7 separate regions of the Homo sapiens genome follow, and all the other regions are linked to region 1. Evidence: promoter capture Hi-C in 16 types of primary human blood cells and fetal thymus (Javierre and others, 2016). All regions are on one chromosome and are shown on one strand. Each heading gives the region's core, a stretch centred on a gene start or on the middle of the fragment in contact. The rest is flanking DNA. Distances are from core to core; before and after follow the strand shown. Region 1 holds the start of C1orf220 (chromosome 1 putative open reading frame 220). Region 2 overlaps FAM20B (FAM20B glycosaminoglycan xylosylkinase). Region 3 overlaps FAM20B (FAM20B glycosaminoglycan xylosylkinase). Region 4 has its middle 48 kb from the start of FAM20B. Region 5 has its middle 62 kb from the start of ANGPTL1. Region 6 overlaps RALGPS2 (Ral GEF with PH domain and SH3 binding motif 2). Region 7 overlaps RALGPS2 (Ral GEF with PH domain and SH3 binding motif 2).

Region 1 (2,686 bases), core at 59-2,558:
ACCGTAGGTCAGGTCATTGCCCCCTGTCAGACTCAAGCCCATCACAGCCCTTGCTATGCTGACAGGCCCATCCCACCCCAGCCCGCTCCCCCCACCACCTGCCCCCCTCCGCCACCTCACCTGTGCCTTCTGCACGCCTCTCCCACCACTCCCCCTCCCTCCCTTTACTCTGGCCACTCTGAATGTCACTGGTCCTCCTTGAGCCCTCCTGAGCCCTCTGCCCAGAGTAATGCCAGAGTGGAGGCCACAGCTGAAGGCAGAGGCTGTTGGCCTGGGGTGGAGAGGGGAGATTCCTCTGGGTGGAAGGTGACATTGGGCAGCCTTGGATGAAGTGAATACCTGGTGTGGGGAAGCAAAAATAAATAGAGAAACAAACGGATTAATTTTGCTTCTTTCCAGGGACTTGATTTTCTACAAGTGCTGCTCCAAGAGGCTTCTACACCCCCGCAGGGAGGCAAGCACCGTTTTGAGGTGGCCGGGCTGGCGAGGAGGTGCAGACCCCAGCCAGCTGGAGGGGCTCTGCCCTGATGGCGTTCCCACTCCCACCTCATTCGCAGGGCGCCGGGGAGGGCTGCAGGTGTTCTATTCCCACCCGGCTTGCAGCGCAAGGAGGGGAATCGCCTGACACCTTCCCCTTCTCCTCTGCCCCGCTTCCTTTCTCTGCTCCCACAGGTGGAAGTCACCAGCGGAAACAACCCTTCACTGTATGGAGGGCTGGGAGAGAGGGGCCAAGAGGGCCCCGGGAGAGCCACTGGGCGGCAGGCAAGGGGCGGGGCAGTCTCCCTTCCGGCTTCCGGGACCGAAGGGTGAAGGGCAAGGGGAGCTCAGGGAATGAACGAGTGCTCCCGACTAATGTTTAACCCACGACTCCGAGACTCCGACTGGTCACAGTCCTGCAGACCTCCAGGTCCTGCACAGGCGACGCAGCGCTCCACTGGCCCGGAATGCGCACCCCGGGGGAAATGGAAAGTGCCATTGAAATGTCAGATGTCACCGTCTTCATCAGCACTCTTGGAATTTTGGCCAAAGTGGCTTCTTCTTTTGCTGAGACTTGACTCACTCCCGGCAGAGGGATGATAGCGGCCTTGCCCCGAGCGTTTATCCGGCTGCAGGCGTCATTCTTGGTCGCCTGTGTGTCCAGAGCCCCAGCGCAGGAAGGGAGCGCAATTCCCACCGCGCCCGCTGGGTGGCGCTAGCGCCGCACCGTGTCCCGGGATGAGGGGAAACCGCGCTGCCCAGTCAGTACCCCGACGCCCCCGCGCCCCCGCCGGGCCCCGCGCGCTGCAGCCACCGCCTCTTCTCGGCTTCCTCTTGCTTTACAGTAACTCTCCTCCTGGGGAAAAGGCTTTTCACGGAGCAGGCTCGGAGCCTACGGGGCTGGCCTCGGACTGGATGGGGGTAAGGACGGGTGGCGGCGCTCGCGCCGAGCGAACGGAGGGCTCAGGCGGCCGGTGATCAGGGACGGGCTGCGGCCGCCGTCTGGGGTGAGAGGCCCACCCAGAGCTCTGGGCCAGGGCTCGCGGCTCTCGTGCAGATGCTGGGCCGGGAGGTGTGGGGAGGGGGCTTCCCAGGCGGGGCAACCGGAGGGGAATGGGGTGTGCAGGAGGGAGGGGAGGCGTGGAGCGCCCGGCCTGCAGGCACTGGGCGGCGCTCTCCAGCCTCCTCTTCTCCCGCCGGGTGCCTGGTGGCTTGGCCTCCCCTCCAGAGCTTCGCATATCCTGGCGGGAGCCGGCGCTCTCTCTCCATACTTAGGACTTGACCCTTATTCCACACCCGGGCAGGGAATCATTTGCCCAATCCGAATTTGATTTTCTGCTTGTGAGAGGAGAAACTGGTGACAGTGTCGCATGGACACTGTCGGGGAAGCCGAGACGTAGACCTGGAAGCCTGTACCAGAGGCCTTGTGGACAGCTTTGGAGCATGCATCTTAAGGCACACCACCGGTTTCTGCTGCTTTGGCACAGCCACGCAGCACCTAGGATGCTTCTCTGCACGCAGCAGAGGCCTAATCCGTGCACCCTCTGACGGTGTTGGAGGGAGCTGGGGAGCAACATCAGATTAATAGCCCCTGGGCTATTTGTATGACGTGCAGATTTCACCCTCTCATTCTTAAAGGGTGAAAGGCTGCAATTCAGAAAGGCGAAGATGGGGCCCAGGAATCTGCAATCTGCGTGGGGTTTTTTTTTTTTTTATGAAGTCTTGTTCTGTCGCTCAGGTTGGGGTGCAGTGGCGCGATCTGTGCTCACCGCAACCTGTCTTCCAGGTTCAAGCGATTATCCTGCCTCAGCCTTCTGAGTAGCTGGGACTACAGGTGCATGACACCACACCTGGCTAATTTTTGTATTTTTAGTAGAGATGGGGTTTCACCATGTTCGCCAGGCTGGTCTTGAACTCCTGACCTCAAGTGATACGCCCACCTTGGCCTCCCAACGTGCTGGGATTACAGGCATGAGCCACCGCGCCTGGCCAGAGTTTGCATTTTGTTGTTGTCGTTTGTTTGTTTGAGACGGAGTCTCGCTCTGTGGCCCAGGCTGGAGTGCAGTGGCGCCATCTCGACTCACTGCAACCTCTGCTTCCCAGGTTCAAGCGATTCTCCTGCCTCAATCTCCCAAGTAGCGGGGATTAACAGGCGTGCCACCACCATGCCTGGCTAAATTTTTTATTCTTAGTAGAGACAGGGTTTCTC
Region 2 (2,686 bases), core at 124-2,623, 510 kb after region 1:
CTGCTCCCGCATCATCTCCTAAACAGCCTGTGTCCACTCCCAGCAACAGGGCACTCTCTTCTCCAACTCAGCAAGGTTTTTTTTGGCCCCTGCCATAGGTGCTAACTCTCTTAGTCACTGCACATACTGACCTGTGCTGCTTTATATCAGGAAATATCACAGGCTGGGGAAAGTGGTTGTAAGTTTAAGTGCTTGCAGAAATTGACTCCAGTCCCTAAACACCCAGCAAAATGCTGTTCTGACCCCCAGGGCTTCAGAGGCTATTTATTTAGTCCTGGTGTAAGTGCAAATTAATGTCCTTGGTCATACTCTGATGTCCTTCAGCAGAAGGATAGGAATGATTTATTGGCAGTTACTGTATGAATTTTGCTGCTCTGTCAGTGACTTAAGATGGATCACTCTCTGGTAAGAGAAGAATCTAAGTCCTTTCTCTGAAAGCCACTTGTGGTTTTAACATTTCTGGAGCCTGATTATCCATGTCCTGCTCTCAGAGATACAAGGTGTGTGCAGTATAGGTAGATGATATATATGGGAATAGAGTGACACTTTTATTTACACATTTTGCCTTACATTATAAGTAAAGGTGATTTTTTTTTTAATGTAGCTATTTCCATTCTAGAAGTAATTGATTTTCACAGGCAAAAACAGCAGTTATGTTGGAAAAAGAACAAGAAGGCAGGGGCCTAGAAGCGCGTAGAAGTGAATGAGTAATCTCAGGAAGTACTAAAAGGGACCTTGGAGATCAGCTAGTCCAACTGTCCATTTTACAGGTGAGAAAAATGAGATCCAGAATTCTGATTTTCCATATTTCACATAACCAAAACATGAGCTGAGGATTCAGGCCTGACTTCAGTGTAGTTCTTTTGATTCTTATTCCTTTTCTCTTCCCTCCATCTTTTCCTCTCCTGCCCACTCCCAAAGTTCCTGTATTCCTCTAAGCTTTTGCATTTTACTCTGCGCAGCCTTTAGATGGATTGGAAAGCTCTCTAATGTTTCACTGAAAGGACCATACTGCACTTCACCACATACCTTCCTGTGGCTGCCCTGAAGTACTAAAAATAAAGTATTCAAGGATAGCCTACATCTGTAGTAGAACAGTACCTGAATAGTGTCAGCTTTTTGCTGCAGGGGTATTTCAAATTTGACTTTTAATTTAGAGGTAGCTAATATAAACCTTTTAAAAAATTATTCCTAAGTAATCCTTTGCACTAGGAACAAACAAACAAAAAATTACATTTGGGTATATTGACCATGCTAAGAAGAAACTGGTGCCCAACCAGAAGGTGATACATGGCTGTCTTCTAACAAATGCTTCATCATTTTGCCTTGAAGATATATTTTGTGGATATGATTTCACTTTATATTCTAAGGTCATTTAAGTTGAAGTTCACTGCCTTTTATAGTACTGTTTTCCACTTCCCTATTGCTGTTTTAGCATGAGAGAGCCAACTATCCTTAGTGGAACCTCTCTTCTCCACATCACTCTCAATTTATTTCTATTTCATAGGTCCATTGTAAAGCCTAAAAGGTCTCCTTTAGATTCAGGAAATGCAGGAGACCAATAGAGAGGACATAGGTGAATTAAGTACTTTTTTCTTCCTAATTAACAGATTTAAATTCTATCTTTTAAAATGGTTAGTAGAAAGAAATATGCCAGTCTTCATTATCCTTTGCTTATGTCATACATGTGATAGAAAATCATCAGAATGCAGTCTGAGATGAAAGAGACCTTAGAAATTACCTCCTAGTCCAGCCCCTAATATTGTAAGTAAGGAATCTGAGACCCAGAGAAGAGAAAGGTTTTGCTCAAGCTTACCCAGTCAAGTAATGACAGCCACACCAACCTCCCACTGCCAGTCCAGGACTCCTTGTAGTACGTCATCATAAACTTAAAAAAAAAGAACAAGAATGGTTATTCAAACAACTTTTTTCAAAAGCGCTGTTGCCTTCCCATTAACAAAGATTGAGTTATATCAGACTATTTTCCCCCAAATTTAAATTTCTCTTATAAGCTTTGCCACAGCCATTCTGGTAAGCAAAAGTTTTTTGTTTTTTGAGACAGAGCCTCACTCTGTTGCCCAGGCTGGAGTGCAGTGGCACAGTCTCGGCTCACTGCAACCTCCGCCTCCCAGGTTCAAGCGATTCTCCTGACTCAGCCTCCTGAGCAGCTGGGATTACAGGCATTCACCACCACACCCAGGTAATTTTGGTGTTTTTTAGTAGAGATGGGGTTTCGCCATGTTGGCCAGGCTGTTCTCGAACTACCGACCTCAGGTGATCCACCCATCTTGGCCTGCCAAAGTGCTGGGATTACAGGTGTGAGCCACCGTGCCTGGCCAGCAAAAGTTTTAATTACACATTTTTCTTCATTTCTTCAGGTCAGTCTAATAAACATTTTAGTAGACATTTATTAAGCACCAACTATGTGCTTAACACTGTGCTGGCAATACAAAGACAGTCCTTGCCTTCCAGAAAACTACCTTTTATCTGTACTAAAACTACATCAAAAGCCCTTTAGTGGGGCAAAAATGACAGCTTCCATGTTTTATTCTTAGAATGATTGGTGACGTAGATAGAGAATTCTAGTTTCCTTCTCTACCTCATCTTCATTCCATCTACCGGCAATTCATGCTAATCCACAGTTGTTTGCAGGGTTGACAGAGAAGGTGACTATAGCAGAATCAGG
Region 3 (2,686 bases), core at 103-2,602, 490 kb after region 1:
TAGAGAAGAGGGTGCTAACTTGGGCACGTTATAAAGGCAGGTCAAGGAATATGAAATTATGAATGTGTAAAGAGGACAGAACCAAGTACAGAGGGAGGCAGTGAAGTCTATCATTCCATGCTCTCAAATGTTAACTTTCTGCTTTATATACATAGCAATGCCTCATTTACCTAATGTTGGGGAGTAAGGTATTATATGTGAAAATTTTATTTTAGCTATACCTTTTGTGGAAAAATTTTTACAATATATGCTTTGGTTATTATTACTAGCATACTGGCAGTAGTTGAGTGAGGCTATGAGATGATCGAAAAATGTAGTTTGTTGTCCACTGTGCTTTTTGAATTATTGAATCTACTTGAGTCGATTCAGTAGTCAGTCTTTGTCTTCTTTCAGTGGTGGAAAGCTGCTCTTTTGCTGCTGTTAGTATCCTTGCTGCCCTCTTTTAAATTTGCAGCTTCTTATCTGTGGAGTAGGAGCTTCCTGACATTGAATGTAAAACAGCTAAATTGGCTTAGTTATGTTCTACCTGCTCTTCTCCAAGTTTTAGGGTATGAACTTTGTAACCACTTATTTTTGTTGCCCAGGGACGTTTTTGTTTGTTTGTTTCTTATCGTTGGTGTAGATAGTGAACGTGTGCTCTGTATAGGTGCATTTATGTTCCTGTAGTTTTCTGTAAAAAAAAAAACAAAATAATATGGAAGTACTTACTCGTGTGGGTTCTTGTTTCAGAAAGCACTGCCAATAATACTTGAAGATCTGATTTCAGCCCTGTCTTGTATCATCCTTGGGCAGTGTGTTAGACAACCTCCTTTCTTCCTTTTAGCATTTCCAAATTGTCTTTACTCTTAATCCCAGCCGATACTAGGAACCAGGTTGGCAATAGCAGTGGCCTTGAAAGGTGGAAGCAGGATATACAGAAGGTGGCAACTTTAAATTGAGTGTATATAATTGGTATACATATTCGCTATTTCTGCATCTTTTATATACTGTATACTTGAATTCATTGTAGGACTTATTTCCCCCTGTCTCTGAAAGAGGCAGTCTTTAAACCAGAGAGTTGCCAGTTTAGAAGAAATTCTTATAACCCTAAAGGTCTTTCTCCTTTGCCCTTCTCTCCTTTTATTCCACAAACACTTATCAGATGCCTCTTACAGGCCCTGCACAGTGCTAAGTTACTTGGAAGTACAAAGCGTGAGTAAAATCTATCCCATCCTCAAAAAACACAATATATTAGAAGAGACAGATGTGCCAAAAAAAAAAAAAAATGTGTGTGTGTGTGTTTGTGTGTGTGTGAGTTCATAGTATAACAGAGGGATCATGCCTGGAGCCACCTAGCCATAATTTCAGCACAGATCTGTTTGAGGTTCTCCTGCTTCTGAGAGTGATCTCCTGTGTGGGCTGTCAGCTTGACGTACCATAGAACATAAGGCTAAAAATGCGAGGTCTATTGTTGTATAAAGTTTATGTGGTTTTCCAAGAACTGTAGTGAATTGAACACTAAAGATGGAAAGCATATGAAAAGCTGAAGGAAAATGTTATAATATTTGTAATGCCGTATTTCAACACTATACAGGAATTACCTTCTATAATCTAGCCTTAAATGGTGGTTCTGTACTGACAGTTGTGCTGTGAAATACCTGGAACTTGGGAAGTGTCATTATACCTGGCTTATTTAAAGGAAAATGCAAATTGTTACTCATTTCCACGTAGTGTCAAGATTACTGCGTGTGTTGGTTTTTTAGAACAGAACTCGCTAGCAGTATGAGCTAAAGTTTTTTTCTTTTTCATTTTTCAAGGAAGAGGGTTGCCCTAAATCAAGGTTTAAATGGGACAGGTTGCAGAGATTGATTTTTTTTCAGTTCACTTATTGAAATTATTCAGTTATTGCCTATTTCATTTTTACTTTCACATCCAGCAAGAAAGACTACCTTAATGCTTCATTAATGCCTGGTAATGGTTTTAGTTGCCTTCCTTCAGAGGGAACTTGTTAGAGAATTTCATATAAGTGATTCTGAGTTTACAGATGTAAATAAATGTTTAAATGGAAGTGAAAACAGTAAGGAAAACCTGACACTTGGACCAATTTGGATTATGTAAGAATTAGATTTTCTACACCTGTACTCTTAAGTTACTCTTAAGGCTTATCTTAAGGGCTTTAGCACATGAAAAGCTGTCATCTTTAAAACACAGAACTAATTTTCCAAACTGAAAACAGTTGTGAAAGGCATTCTATTTTAGCCTTTTTTTGTGAAGTGGGATAAGTTCATGCTTCCCATCTGTTTCAGTTACATTGAGTGTGGTAGAATTGAACTTTGTAGAGAAGGGAAACAGGTTGGCCAAATTAGTGACAGCCTCCCAGTCTTCTGCTTTGCATGACACTCACTCTGAAGATATCTATTTGCCTAGTCTTATCTACCTCTCAAATTTAGGCAAGAATTTGGCTCAGAAATACAAGACTACTAATTACTACTAAACTCTTAGTAATGCAATGTGTGGATTTGGCCCCTCACTATGTAACTGAGAAGACAACATTATGGTATATTGATTCCAATGAGGGTTTTCTTTGTCATTTTTCTCCTCTCTGGAGGTCATCTGGGTTTTTGATATGGTGATAATGACTAGCAAGTGATTACTGTGGGTCATCCAGGCACTAATCTTAGCACAACACATGTAGAGGTCTCATTCT
Region 4 (2,686 bases), core at 120-2,619, 430 kb after region 1:
TCTTGAAGTCAGCGAGACCAAGAACCCACAAGAAGGGATAAATTCCAGACACAGTATGACATCAGTGGTGTCTGCCACAAAAGTACCCATGTCACCCCTCCCTCAGCTCCAGGCAGTGCAGTTCAGAGAGACTCCCTCTACTTGGGAAGAAAGAAGAGTACAGGAGACTTTGCCTGTGAATCTAGTGTCAGTTTTGCCACAGTAAAACAAAACACAGGGCTGAACCCCCACCTGGACATACTTCTAGACTTGTCCTGGGACAGAAGGGAATCCATCACCATGGCAGGAAAAACCCAAGTCCCAGCCTGCTTCACCACCAGCTGACCAAAGTGACCTTGGCCTTTGAATAAATATCAGCAGTATTAAGGCAGTAGCAGCTGCAGGCATTGAGCTAGCCCTGGTACTGCACCGGTCAGGGAGACTATAGGCTTTGGTATGACCTAGCATAGTGCCAGCTGCAGAGGCCATGGATATGTCCATGTCAGCCCTCCCCCACCAGGGAACTATCTCTGATTTTCCAGAACTACATCAGGGTTGGCGATCTTGGAGTCTGCAAGACTCATAGTGAAACTTGGCTTAGGGCCCTCTCTACTGCAAAATGGCTGCACTGACCACAGGTTTAGTGAACTCAACAGGTGGTCCCTTTTGAATTATTCGAAGGCTCCCTGAAGAACAGATACAAACAAGGCCAGACAGTGAAGACTGGAATAAGTATCTACTTCATCAATGCCCAGATATTGATGAATGTATGCAAGCATCAGAAACATTCAGAAAATATGGTCTCACTAAATAGACTAAATAAGGCACCAGTAATGACCCTGGAGAGATGGAGATGTGTGACCTCTCAGCCAAGGAATTCAAAATAGCTGTTTTGAGGAAGTTCAGTCAACTTAAACACACACACACACACACACACACACACACACACACACACACACACACACACAAAATTCAGAAATTTATCAGAGAAATTTAACAAAAAGACTGAAAATTTGAAAATAAATAGAAATCCTGGACCTGAAAAATATAATACGATAGATCAAGTAAAAAATGCATTTGACATCTTCAACAGAAGAATTGATCAAACAGAAGAAAGAATCAGGCTATTTGAAAATGCACAGAGGAGAAAAAGGAAAGACAAACACGAGAATTAAAAAATAGCTTCAAAAGAGCAAATGTAAGAGTCGTTGGCCTTAAAGAGGGAGTAGAGACAGAAAAAGGGGTAGAAAGTTTATTCAAAGAAATAATATCATGGAGTGGGGAGAAGAAAAAAAATAATATCAGAAAACTTTCCAAACCTAAAGAAAGTTATGAATATCCAGTTACGAGATGGTCAAAGAGCACCAAGCAGATTGAACCCAAATAAGACTCAAGCCATATAAAAAATCAGACTCTCAAAGTTAAACAAGAAAAAGAGGATCCTAAAATGGCAAGAAAAAAGAAACAAACAACATATAAAGAAGCTCCAGGCCAGGTACAGTGGCTCACACCTGTAATCCCAACACTTTGGGAGGCTGAGGTCGGCAGATCACCTGAGGTCAGGAGTTCAAGACTAGCCTGGCCATCATGGCAAAACTGCATCCCTACTAAACAATACAAAAATTAGCTAGGCATGGTGGCTGGTGCCTGTAATCCTAGCTACTCAGGAGGCTGAGGAAGGGAGAATTGCTTGAACCTGGGAGTTGGAGGTTGCAGTGAGCAGAGATCACACCATTGCACTCCAGCCTGGGCAACAGAGTGAGACTCTGTCAAAAAAAAAAAAAAAAGCTCCAATACATCTGTCTGACAGTGGACTTCCCAGTGGAAATCTTAGAGGCCAGGAAAGAGTGGGATGCCATATTCAAAGTGATGAAGAAAACAAAAATTACAAACTGAGAATACTGTATCCAGTAAAGCTATCTTTCAAACACAAAGGAGAGATAAAGACTTTGTCAGGCAAACAAAAGCTGAAGGAATTTATCACCACCAGACCTGTCTTACAAGATATGTGAAAAAAAGAGTTCTTCCATCTGAAATAAAAGGATGCTAATGTGCAAAAAGAAAGCATTTGAAGATATAAAACTCACTGGTAAAACTATGTACATAGCCAGGCTCAGTGCCTCAAGCCTGTAATCCCAGCACTTTGGGAGGCTGAGGTGGGTGGATCACTTGAGGTCAGGAGTTTAAGGCCAGCCTGGCCAACATAGTGAAACCCCATCTCTACTAGAATTACAAAAATTAGCCAGGTATGGTGGCGGGCACCTGTAATCCCAGCTTCTAGGGAGGCTGAGGCGCAAGAATCACTCGAACCCAGGAGGCAGAGGTTGCAGTGAGCCGAGATCGTGCCACTGCACTCCAGCCTGGGTGACAGAGCAAGACTCTTTCTAAAAAAAAATAAGTGTGTACATAGACAAATTCAGAATAATATAGTAATTGTAGTACGTAAGCTACTTGTGTCTTTAGTATGAACACTAAAAGACACACCTATCAAAATTAATAACTACAATTTGTTAAGAGAGAAACAATATAAAAAGATTTAAATTGACAACAAATAATCAAAATGCAGAGGGGGATGGAGGTAAGTATCTTTTTCCTCTGTCTCTTTTTTTGCAATCAAAATTAAGATGTCATCTTAATAATTTATTATAGCTAAAGATAAGCCTTTAAAATAATTTACTACAGCTAAAGCTAAGTCTCATGGTAACTA
Region 5 (2,686 bases), core at 54-2,553, 390 kb after region 1:
TCTTGTGTTATTTTTTATTAAAGCAGGGAACAAATGGGACCTTCACAGTCCTTAAAGATGAAATACCCCCAAACCAAACCAGAGTTCACTGGCAAAGCAAAGCAGTGTCCTTACATCTCGGAGGGCCCTGACCCGCCTCTGTCCCGAACCCCACCAGCAGCGGCTCTGCTAGAAAGGGAACATTTTGTTCCTTTATTGTGGTAAACCAGACCCAGGGCCCCGCTGGTTCTCAAGTCAGCTGTGAAGCTGACACACTGCCTCTCAGGGTCAGTTTGGCCCCCACAGCAGGCCCTGGGGAAGCAGCCACGCCCTCAGCTCCCTTGGGGCCCTGTCTTCCATTCCTTAACAGGACCAGCTTCTTCAGAGACTCTGGACTCTCATAAACGTTGAAGCCAGATTGTTTCCCTCTTTGCTTTTGTTTTGATGTATTTTTAAATAATTAGGCTTTTACTCTCAAGTATTTTCATTCTCCATCACTGGCTGAGGGGCAGCTCTCACACCACACTAGGGCAAGGCATGCTACTATGGTATCCAGTAAACAGTTGCCAAACAAAGTCAAAAGTTCTCTTTGGCCAAAGCCAAAATCAAGTTCTCTTTTGTACTTGTTGTTCTTCCATCTGCCCTGAGCTATGTCATAGCTGTCAAAATATGTCACCCCCTGCACCTCCGTGCAGGGTTTAAGAAAAGCAGCTCCTTGGACTTTTGCCAGCGACTTTCTTGCAACATCTTAATTATCCATTTTTTGCTTAGCAAGTAAGTCTAGAAAGAACTGCTTCTTTTATTCTTGGAAAGTAAGTACTTGGGAATGTTCAATGAAAACCAGTATGTGCTGAACTCCTGCTCTGTGCTAGGTTCTGGGGAAGGGGAGGCAGTCCCTGACCAAGGGGATCTCACAGTCAGTGAGGAGAGTGTCCCCTGAGGTCGCTGGGAAGAAGCAACACATTTCCCTGTCCAGTGGCAACTACCTCCTCATCACCTAATCCCTGCGCCCGGAGCACAAACTCATCCTAAGCAAAGGCAACTGAGCAGCTGTTTTCCTGTTCACCCCACCTCAGGTCCTCACTACTTTCCTACCGATACCATTCTAAGTTCCCAACGCATTTTGTGAAAGTAAGTCAGTTTGATTCATCATATAGTCATTGGTTCTGATGTTGTGGTTCTAAGCTTATTTTATACATTGTTATCTAATTTATTCTTTCTTAACAACCCTGTATAGTAGAGATACTTCTTCTTGAATTACAACCAGAAAATTTGGAGAGGTTGAAGAACTTGCCTACAGTCACCCAGTAAGGAGGTGGAGCCAGGATTCAAACTCTGGTCTGATTCTCGGCCCTGGTGGACACTGGCTTTCAGAGCTGTAACTTGCAGTTTTGGTGCCCAGAACCTGCAGCACAAAAGCTCCGCAAATGACTTTGTGATTTATTATGAAACTCAAAGAAAGAACAAGCTTCCTACTTTAATTTTCCTTGCTAATGACAGTTTTCAGCTGAAGAAATCCATGTGCTGTCAACATGTAAATATAACCTTTTTTTTTTTCCAATGTCTGTTCCCGGGACAGAGCCTCCCAGTAGGCCTTGCACTGTGCTGCATGTGGTCCCTGGAGTTTTACAGCCTCACTACAGACACAAAACAGAGTGGTTAACACAAGCAATCCTGAATTGCATAAATGTGCTGGATGCCCATGCTAGACTAAGAAAGTTCTTCGTATTCAGGAGAAACACTGTGGCCCTGAGAGGCCAGGGAAGGCCACGTGGAAGAGGAGAGTCCATGGGTGGGTAGGATTTAGGACCAGGGGAGAAGAATTGCAAGCAAGAGCTGGAAATATACAGTTGAGGCTGGGAAGAGCTCACACTGAGAAGTGGCAACACATAAAGTTGGAAAAGTAGGTTGGAGCCAAATTGCTCAGGATTTTAAGTGCCAGAAGGAGGAATTGGAGAATGGAAGCTGGGAGACCAGGCAGGAAACAGCTGTTCTCCAGGAGAGAGAGAGCAAGGGTCTGTCCCAAAGTGGGAGCACAGGTAGGAAACAATTGAGAGGCATTTTGAAGGATGAAGGCTCCTCTGTCTCCTGTGCCCAGGAGCCCTGCCCTCTGCTAGGCTCTGGGACTAGTAATGCTGATTAACTGATCTGCCAGTGGATGCATTGGCCCTCCCTGATGACCCGGCACCCTTCTTGGAGAAGAGTGGGACTCTGGCCCCCTATCCCTCCATGTTCAATTGCCCACATCACTCAACTCTTCCTGTCCACCACACTTACCCTCCCAAGTGTATTTCCTCATCTGCAAAAACAGCATGAGAAAGCTCCTCCTTCCTAAGTTTATTGTGAGGTTGAATAAGGTCATGCGTGGAAGATGCAAAGCACAGGGCCTGGCGCTTGTAACCGCTCAGCAGATGGGAACCGCCAGCATAAATATTCTGCACCCTTGGTCAGCTGGGACCCATTATTGAGAGTGGCTATTCTCGTCTCTCTCTATGAAATGTTAGACACTAGCAGACAGCTGAAGGTGAAATCAAGCAAGTTTGAACTGTGGTCTCTCTCTGGGGCTCCTTGTCAGGTAAGTTGGACATAAGCAACTTCCTAACAAAAGAGCCAGAAGTTGTTTCATTCTGACAGTGAAGCATGACTTCATAGTTTCTTATTCTATAAGTTGTACAGACAGACTTTTCTTCCTTTTTGTGTTTATGCC
Region 6 (2,686 bases), core at 120-2,619, 370 kb after region 1:
TGGGGGCCACTGGTAAAAGCACTATGGTGACAGTCGCCCGCAAAAGCATTCCAACAGAATAGTGGAAGCTACACTGTGTGCCTGCTCCCATGGGAGTGGCCAAACAGGGACCTTGGAAGGGGCCAGTAGACAGTGGGACATGCAGCTCAGACTCACCCCAGTCCCATGGGAAACACAGCCCTGCTCTCTCCAAATATGGCAGTTAGCAAAGGTCAGAGCCACCTAGAGGAGTATGAAGAGCCTTGGTGGGTGGGCGCCTATGGCCGTGTTCCTTTGCAGCTTTCCCCACACCATACCCCCTGGGCTCCATGTAGACCTAAGTTCTGTCTCTGCCAGCTCTCCAGGCAGTTCCCCCTGGCAACTCAAATATCCAGGAGGACTATGGGATCTCCTGCCACTAGGATCCCAGCGGTTTGTGGTGAGAGTGGGCCATTCCACAGTTACTTTACTCACCCCTTCCTTAGGAGCTGTTCAGGACCAGGAATGAGTCCCAGCACTCCACAGCCCTGTGCAGGGTTCCTAGCTTCTTCGCTCTTCAACCCTGGTTCTGCATCATCTCTCCACCCACTCTCAGAAAATCGGTGATTTTCTCTCAGTGCATCCTCTCAGAAGATAGGCTTGGAGTATGCTGGTCTACTAGATACTCAGATCTCTCTTGGTGGGAGAAGCTCTTCCTGGCTTTGCCTAGTTGGCCATCTTGTCCCAATCCCGAGGGCATTTTTTTAAAATATTGTTGGAGTGGGCTTTGTTCTCTCATAGTTTTTATTGTTTCAAATATATATGCAACACTAATAGCAGTATTTAGTACCATTTTTAGCAACCTCCATAAAGGACATGAAATGTCATAGAGCGAAAATTATTTTTTGCCTTGTCAGGTTAGTGTCTGGGGCAGAATGAAAGAAACAGATCAGGCTTTGTCTAGACTAAGCCTTTCAGGATTCACCTCATTGCTATACATTTTCTTTAAATGTAATTTAGGGTATTAAGACTCTTTTTTTTTCAATCTCAGATTCCAAGATGAATCTAGACAATATATACATATACCAGCTTAAAGGTTCAATTTCTTTTACTGTATTAGTGAGTATTTCTGTGCAACAAGTCAACCAGACGTGTATAAATATTTGTTTCTATACTTGCAAGAATTAGAATAGTGGCAAATTTGTAAGTAGAACCTGTGAAAGTTTTAGTAGAAAACTCTGACTCAAATGCAAAATATCTTAAACCACATTCAGGCAACTTAAAAAGAAATGAAACTTTTACTTTACTTAAATACAAGTTTCTTTTTTTTTCTTTGAGACAGGGTTTCACTCTTGTTGCCCAGCCTGGACAGTGCAATGGTGCGATCTTGGCTCACTGCAACCTCTGCCTCCCGGGTTCAAGCCATTCTCCTGCCTCAGCCTCCTGAGTAGCTGGGATTACAGGCACCCACCACAGGCCCAGCTAATTTTTGTATTTTCAGTAGAGATGGAGTTTCACAATGTTGGCCAGGCTGGTCTTAAACTCCTGACCTCAGGTGATCTGCCTGCCTCAGCCTCCCAAAGTGCTGGGATTATAGGCGTGAGCCACCGCACCCGGCCAAATATGAGTTTCTTATAATCAGACCTGAAAATTTATACTTTAAGCACTTGAGCATTTGTGTTGTATTTGATTTGTAATTCAGTTATGAGTACATTGGCCAACATAATTTTTTTATTCAGAAGCTGACACTTGTAAGGTATTTATGTTTTTGCATATAATAGGTTTCAGAGAGAGGTTGCTAAACTGTGAGAGCTGTCTTAAGGACAGAAAAGACCACTGACATATGAATACCTCTCCCAGTATTTTGGAAAACTGGTTTTGAGGATTTGTTTTAACATAGTGAAACTCTAATAAGGAATTTTGTTTTTCTGTACTTATTTTAATCATGATTTTACAAATAAATTCTTAGTAATGTTTGTTATAAAATTATTTTTGCTGATTTTAAAAATATGCACCTAGGAATTTTTGTAATATATAATGAGAAAATAAATAATGGCAAACAAGTGTATCTGGAATCTCACCCTACCAGAGTCATACTTACTCTTGCTCTCATTTATTCATTCAGTAAACGTCTACTGAGCCCCCTGTGTTAGACAAGAAAGATATTGTCTCTACCCCTTCTCCTGTATAGATGTCATTTTACTAGAAAGAGTATTAACTCATTTTGGTGATTTTCTCTCAAAAATGTTCTAGCATGTTAATTATTCATAAACTATTGAAGCTCCTTATATCAAGTTCCTTTTAAAAGATACTTAAGTAGAAAGATTGGGCTTGCCTAAATAACAAGGAAAGATAAGAAATACTCCTTTGAAAAACAACTTTTAAACTCAGTTTTTAATGCTTATATTTTTTAGGTTCCTACAAACTTGATGACTTTTGAGTAGAAGCCTGAGAAAAAAAGAGAGGTGAACTGTTGCTTCTACGTGAGCATGAGGACCTGATAAAAGAGCGCCAGCTATAAACCATCCTGTGCCAGGAAGAGCCCAGAGGCTCTGTCTCAGTCGTTGGAGTTCTCAACCAAAAAAGCACTAATTTCAGGGAATGATTTGAGATATTCCCAGAGAACAAATTGGAGTTGCAAAACAAACTGCCATGAACCATGCTTCTTATCTCAGAACTGACCTGTGGAAACCACTGCCTTAAAAGAATGAAAGGAAAACCAACATGA
Region 7 (2,686 bases), core at 74-2,573, 350 kb after region 1:
TATATCACAGTAAGCCAAAGGCACATACAAATCAAGAATCTCTTAGGCAGGCTAGTGAACTCAGAATTGCATGTCAGTTGAAGCATTACCATACCTTTTGTGTGCTGGATGCTAGAAATAGAGCAGTGAACAAGGTGAGGCAAAGTGTCTTCCTCCTGGATTACATTTCAGTGAGGAGAAATAGAGAATAAGGCTTTAAAATAATGTCATAGGATACAGAATGATGGGGCAAGGAGGGATGCCACCATGGCAAAACATTTGAGCTGAGATCTGAATGAGGAAGGTGAGTTAGCTGTGTGAATATCTAGAGTTCAGGAGACAAGAAGGCTTGTGTAGTTTACGCATTGAAATTGGGGAAGGTGGAGGAGATCAAGTAAGAGGCAAAAGCTGGAGTTGTTTGATGATAAATTAAACATGATGTATGAGAGAAAGAGTGAAAACAAAGATAACTTCTAGGTTTGGGGACTGAGATGGGTGTATGTTGGGGACATTTATTGAAATGGGGGGCAGGTCAGTCTTGGCCAAGTTCAGTTTGATATGCTTATTAAACATTCAAGTGGAGGTGTCATTGTGGCTGTTGAAAAAGTATGGATCATGAGGTCAGCAGAGAGGTGGCAGGGAGATAGATTTGGGAGTCATTAGCATACAGATAGATAGTATTTGAAATATGGAACTGGATGATAGATTATCTAAGAAGAAAGTATAGCTAGAGAAGAAAACAAGGTTGGAGATGGGGCTCTGTAGCATTAAAGGTCTCCCACAAAGAAGAGTATAAAGGAAAACTAAGGAACTGTTATCCCAGAAGCCTAGCAGTTACAGTACTTCAAAAAGCAAAGAGTGGCCAGCTGGGTCAGATGCTGTTAAGAGGCTGGCTATGATAAGGATAGAGGCTTTGCTAAAATTACAATCATCAGTGACCTTGATGGCCCAAAAGCCAAATGAAATGAGTTAAGTAGAAAATGGGCAAAACAGAAGAAGTAGAGGCAAGATTTAGAGACACCCTTGCAAGAAGTTATGCTGTGAAAAGGAGAAGAGAAATTGGTTGGTGTCTGGGGAGTGAGGAGATGGGTCAAAGGAGGGATTTTAAAGGTGGGAGTACTATTAAGGTTCATTTGTATAATGGTGGTAGAGGGAGAGAGATTGAGAAGCAATGGAGTTAATTGCAAAAGCAAACTTCTTTATTTTTTTTTTCTTTTTTTTTTTTTATTATACTTTAAGTTTTAGGGTACATGTGCACATTGTGCAGGTTAGTTACATATGTATACATGTGCCATGCTGGTGCGCTGCACCCACTAACTCGTCATCTAGCATTAGGTATATCTCCCGATGCTATCCCTCCCCCGACCCCACAACAGTCCCCAGAGTGTGATATTCCCCTTCCTGTGTCCATGTGATCTCATTGTTCAATTCCCACCTATGAGTGAGAATATGCGGTGTTTGGTTTTTTGTTCTTGCGATAGTTTACTGAGAATGATGATTTCCAATTTCATCCATGTCCCTACAAAGGACATGAACTCATCATTTTTTATGGCTGCATAGTATTCCATGGTGTATATGTGCCACATTTTCTTAATCCAGTCTATCATTGTTGGACATTTGGATTGGTTCCAAGTCTTTGCTATTGTGAATAATGCCGCAATAAACATACGTGTGCATGTGTCTTTATAGCAGCATGATTTATAGTCCTTTGTGTATATACCCAGTAATGGGATGGCTGGGTCAAATGGTATTTCCAGTTCTAGATCCCTGAGGAATCGCCACACTGACTTCCACAATGGTTGAATTAGTTTACAGTCCCACCAACAAATTTACAAGAAAAAAACAAACAACCCCATCAAAAAGTGGGCGAAGGACATGAACAGACACTTCTCAAAAGAAGACATTTATGCAGCCAAAAAACACATGAAAAAATGCTCATCATCACTGGCCATCAGAGAAATGCAAATCAAAACCACAATGAGATACCATCTCACACCAGTTAGAATGGCAGTCATTAAAAAGTCAGGAAACAACAGGTGCTGGAGAGGATGTGGAGAAATAGGAACACTTTTACACTGTTGGTGGGACTGTAAAGCAAACTTCTTTAAAAAGTGAGAGAGAGTTGGAATCTAGGGCATAAAAAGAGAGTTGAGTTTGCCTTTAGATAGAATCGGGGTTAACTATTCTTTTGTAGCTGGAGGAAAGACTGAGTATGTGGGTCTACAAACAGGTAGTTACATGGCAGTGACAGGAGTATTTGAGATTAAGATTTCAGAAGTGATACAGCTCAACTCTGAGGTTAGGACTTTGGTTGAAGTGAAGTGGACTTGATCATTGGCACTTAGAATGTAAAGAAACTAAGAAGCCAGGAGCATTGTAATAGTATATTCCTGTGTTTGTCCTATCCAGGTAGCATCTTGGACAAAATATTGGGCAGCTTTGTGTGGGACACAGCTTTTTTACTATGCTGCCAAATCTCTAAAGGCTACCGAAAGAAAACATGTAAGTATTTGTTCTCTACATTTTTAGCGTGGTTTCCCAGACTGTTCATGGTTATAAAGAAAGCAGTCCTAATGGGATACAAAGGTTTTTTGGGTTTGCCTTGTTTTTTCCTATCTTCTAGTCCAAAAGTTTTTACATTTATTTCTTTTTTAAATACCATTTTTCCATTGCAAATGTCAAAACTGCACATTACGCTTATCTATTT

Evidence for each region. Contacts are between HindIII fragments. The CHiCAGO score rates a contact against its expected background, and 5 or more counts as called.
Region 2: a fragment that was not itself captured here is called in contact with the fragment with the promoter of C1orf220 in region 1 in 1 of 17 cell types (naive CD4 T cells); the score reaches 5.8 in naive CD4 T cells.
Region 3: a fragment that was not itself captured here is called in contact with the fragment with the promoter of C1orf220 in region 1 in 9 of 17 cell types (total B cells, M2 macrophages, fetal thymus and 6 more); the score reaches 8.6 in total B cells.
Region 4: a fragment that was not itself captured here is called in contact with the fragment with the promoter of C1orf220 in region 1 in 4 of 17 cell types (endothelial precursors, naive B cells, fetal thymus and 1 more); the score reaches 5.9 in endothelial precursors.
Region 5: a contact is called between a fragment that was not itself captured here and the fragment with the promoter of C1orf220 in region 1, in 5 of 17 cell types (total B cells, naive B cells, megakaryocytes and 2 more). The highest score is 15.7, in total B cells.
Region 6: a fragment that was not itself captured here is called in contact with the fragment with the promoter of C1orf220 in region 1 in 2 of 17 cell types (naive B cells and total B cells); the score reaches 13.9 in naive B cells.
Region 7: a contact is called between a fragment that was not itself captured here and the fragment with the promoter of C1orf220 in region 1, in 3 of 17 cell types (total B cells, naive B cells and total CD4 T cells). The highest score is 16.6, in total B cells.

The regions. Positions count from the first base shown.
Region 1 is chr1:178,541,488-178,544,173 of GRCh38, forward strand. It overlaps C1orf220 (chromosome 1 putative open reading frame 220), which reads left to right and starts at 1,309. Exons shown (of 3, transcript NR_033186.1): 1 at 1,309-1,398. It overlaps LOC124904460 (a long non-coding RNA gene), which reads right to left and starts at 1,158. Exons shown (of 2, transcript XR_007066748.1): 1 at 547-1,158; 2 at 1-339. RefSeq lists an enhancer at 1,004-1,063 and silencers at 1,114-1,443, 1,474-1,543. The HindIII fragment of the contact is 17,585 bases long and covers 1-2,686 here.
Region 2 is chr1:179,047,504-179,050,189 of GRCh38, forward strand. All of the region lies in intron 2 of FAM20B (FAM20B glycosaminoglycan xylosylkinase), which reads left to right. Among named protein-coding and RNA genes, the nearest start is that of FAM20B, 23 kb to the left of the region's middle. The HindIII fragment of the contact is 872 bases long and covers 938-1,809 here.
Region 3 is chr1:179,029,629-179,032,314 of GRCh38, forward strand. The region is part of intron 1 of FAM20B (FAM20B glycosaminoglycan xylosylkinase); the gene reads left to right. Among named protein-coding and RNA genes, the nearest start is that of FAM20B, 5.1 kb to the left of the region's middle. RefSeq lists a silencer at 1-40. The HindIII fragment of the contact is 3,274 bases long and covers 1-2,686 here.
Region 4 is chr1:178,976,294-178,978,979 of GRCh38, forward strand. No RefSeq gene overlaps it. Among named protein-coding and RNA genes, the nearest start is that of FAM20B, 48 kb to the right of the region's middle. The HindIII fragment of the contact is 3,419 bases long and covers 1-2,686 here.
Region 5 is chr1:178,931,811-178,934,496 of GRCh38, forward strand. No RefSeq gene overlaps it. Among named protein-coding and RNA genes, the nearest start is that of ANGPTL1, 62 kb to the left of the region's middle. The HindIII fragment of the contact is 283 bases long and covers 1,163-1,445 here.
Region 6 is chr1:178,913,958-178,916,643 of GRCh38, forward strand. RALGPS2 (Ral GEF with PH domain and SH3 binding motif 2) reads left to right here. Exons shown (of 20, transcript NM_152663.5): 20 at 2,373-2,686. The coding sequence ends at 2,402. Among named protein-coding and RNA genes, the nearest start is that of ANGPTL1, 44 kb to the left of the region's middle. The HindIII fragment of the contact is 5,766 bases long and covers 1-2,686 here.
Region 7 is chr1:178,895,276-178,897,961 of GRCh38, forward strand. RALGPS2 (Ral GEF with PH domain and SH3 binding motif 2) reads left to right here. Exons shown (of 20, transcript NM_152663.5): 17 at 2,389-2,481. Among named protein-coding and RNA genes, the nearest start is that of ANGPTL1, 26 kb to the left of the region's middle. The HindIII fragment of the contact is 2,744 bases long and covers 1-2,686 here.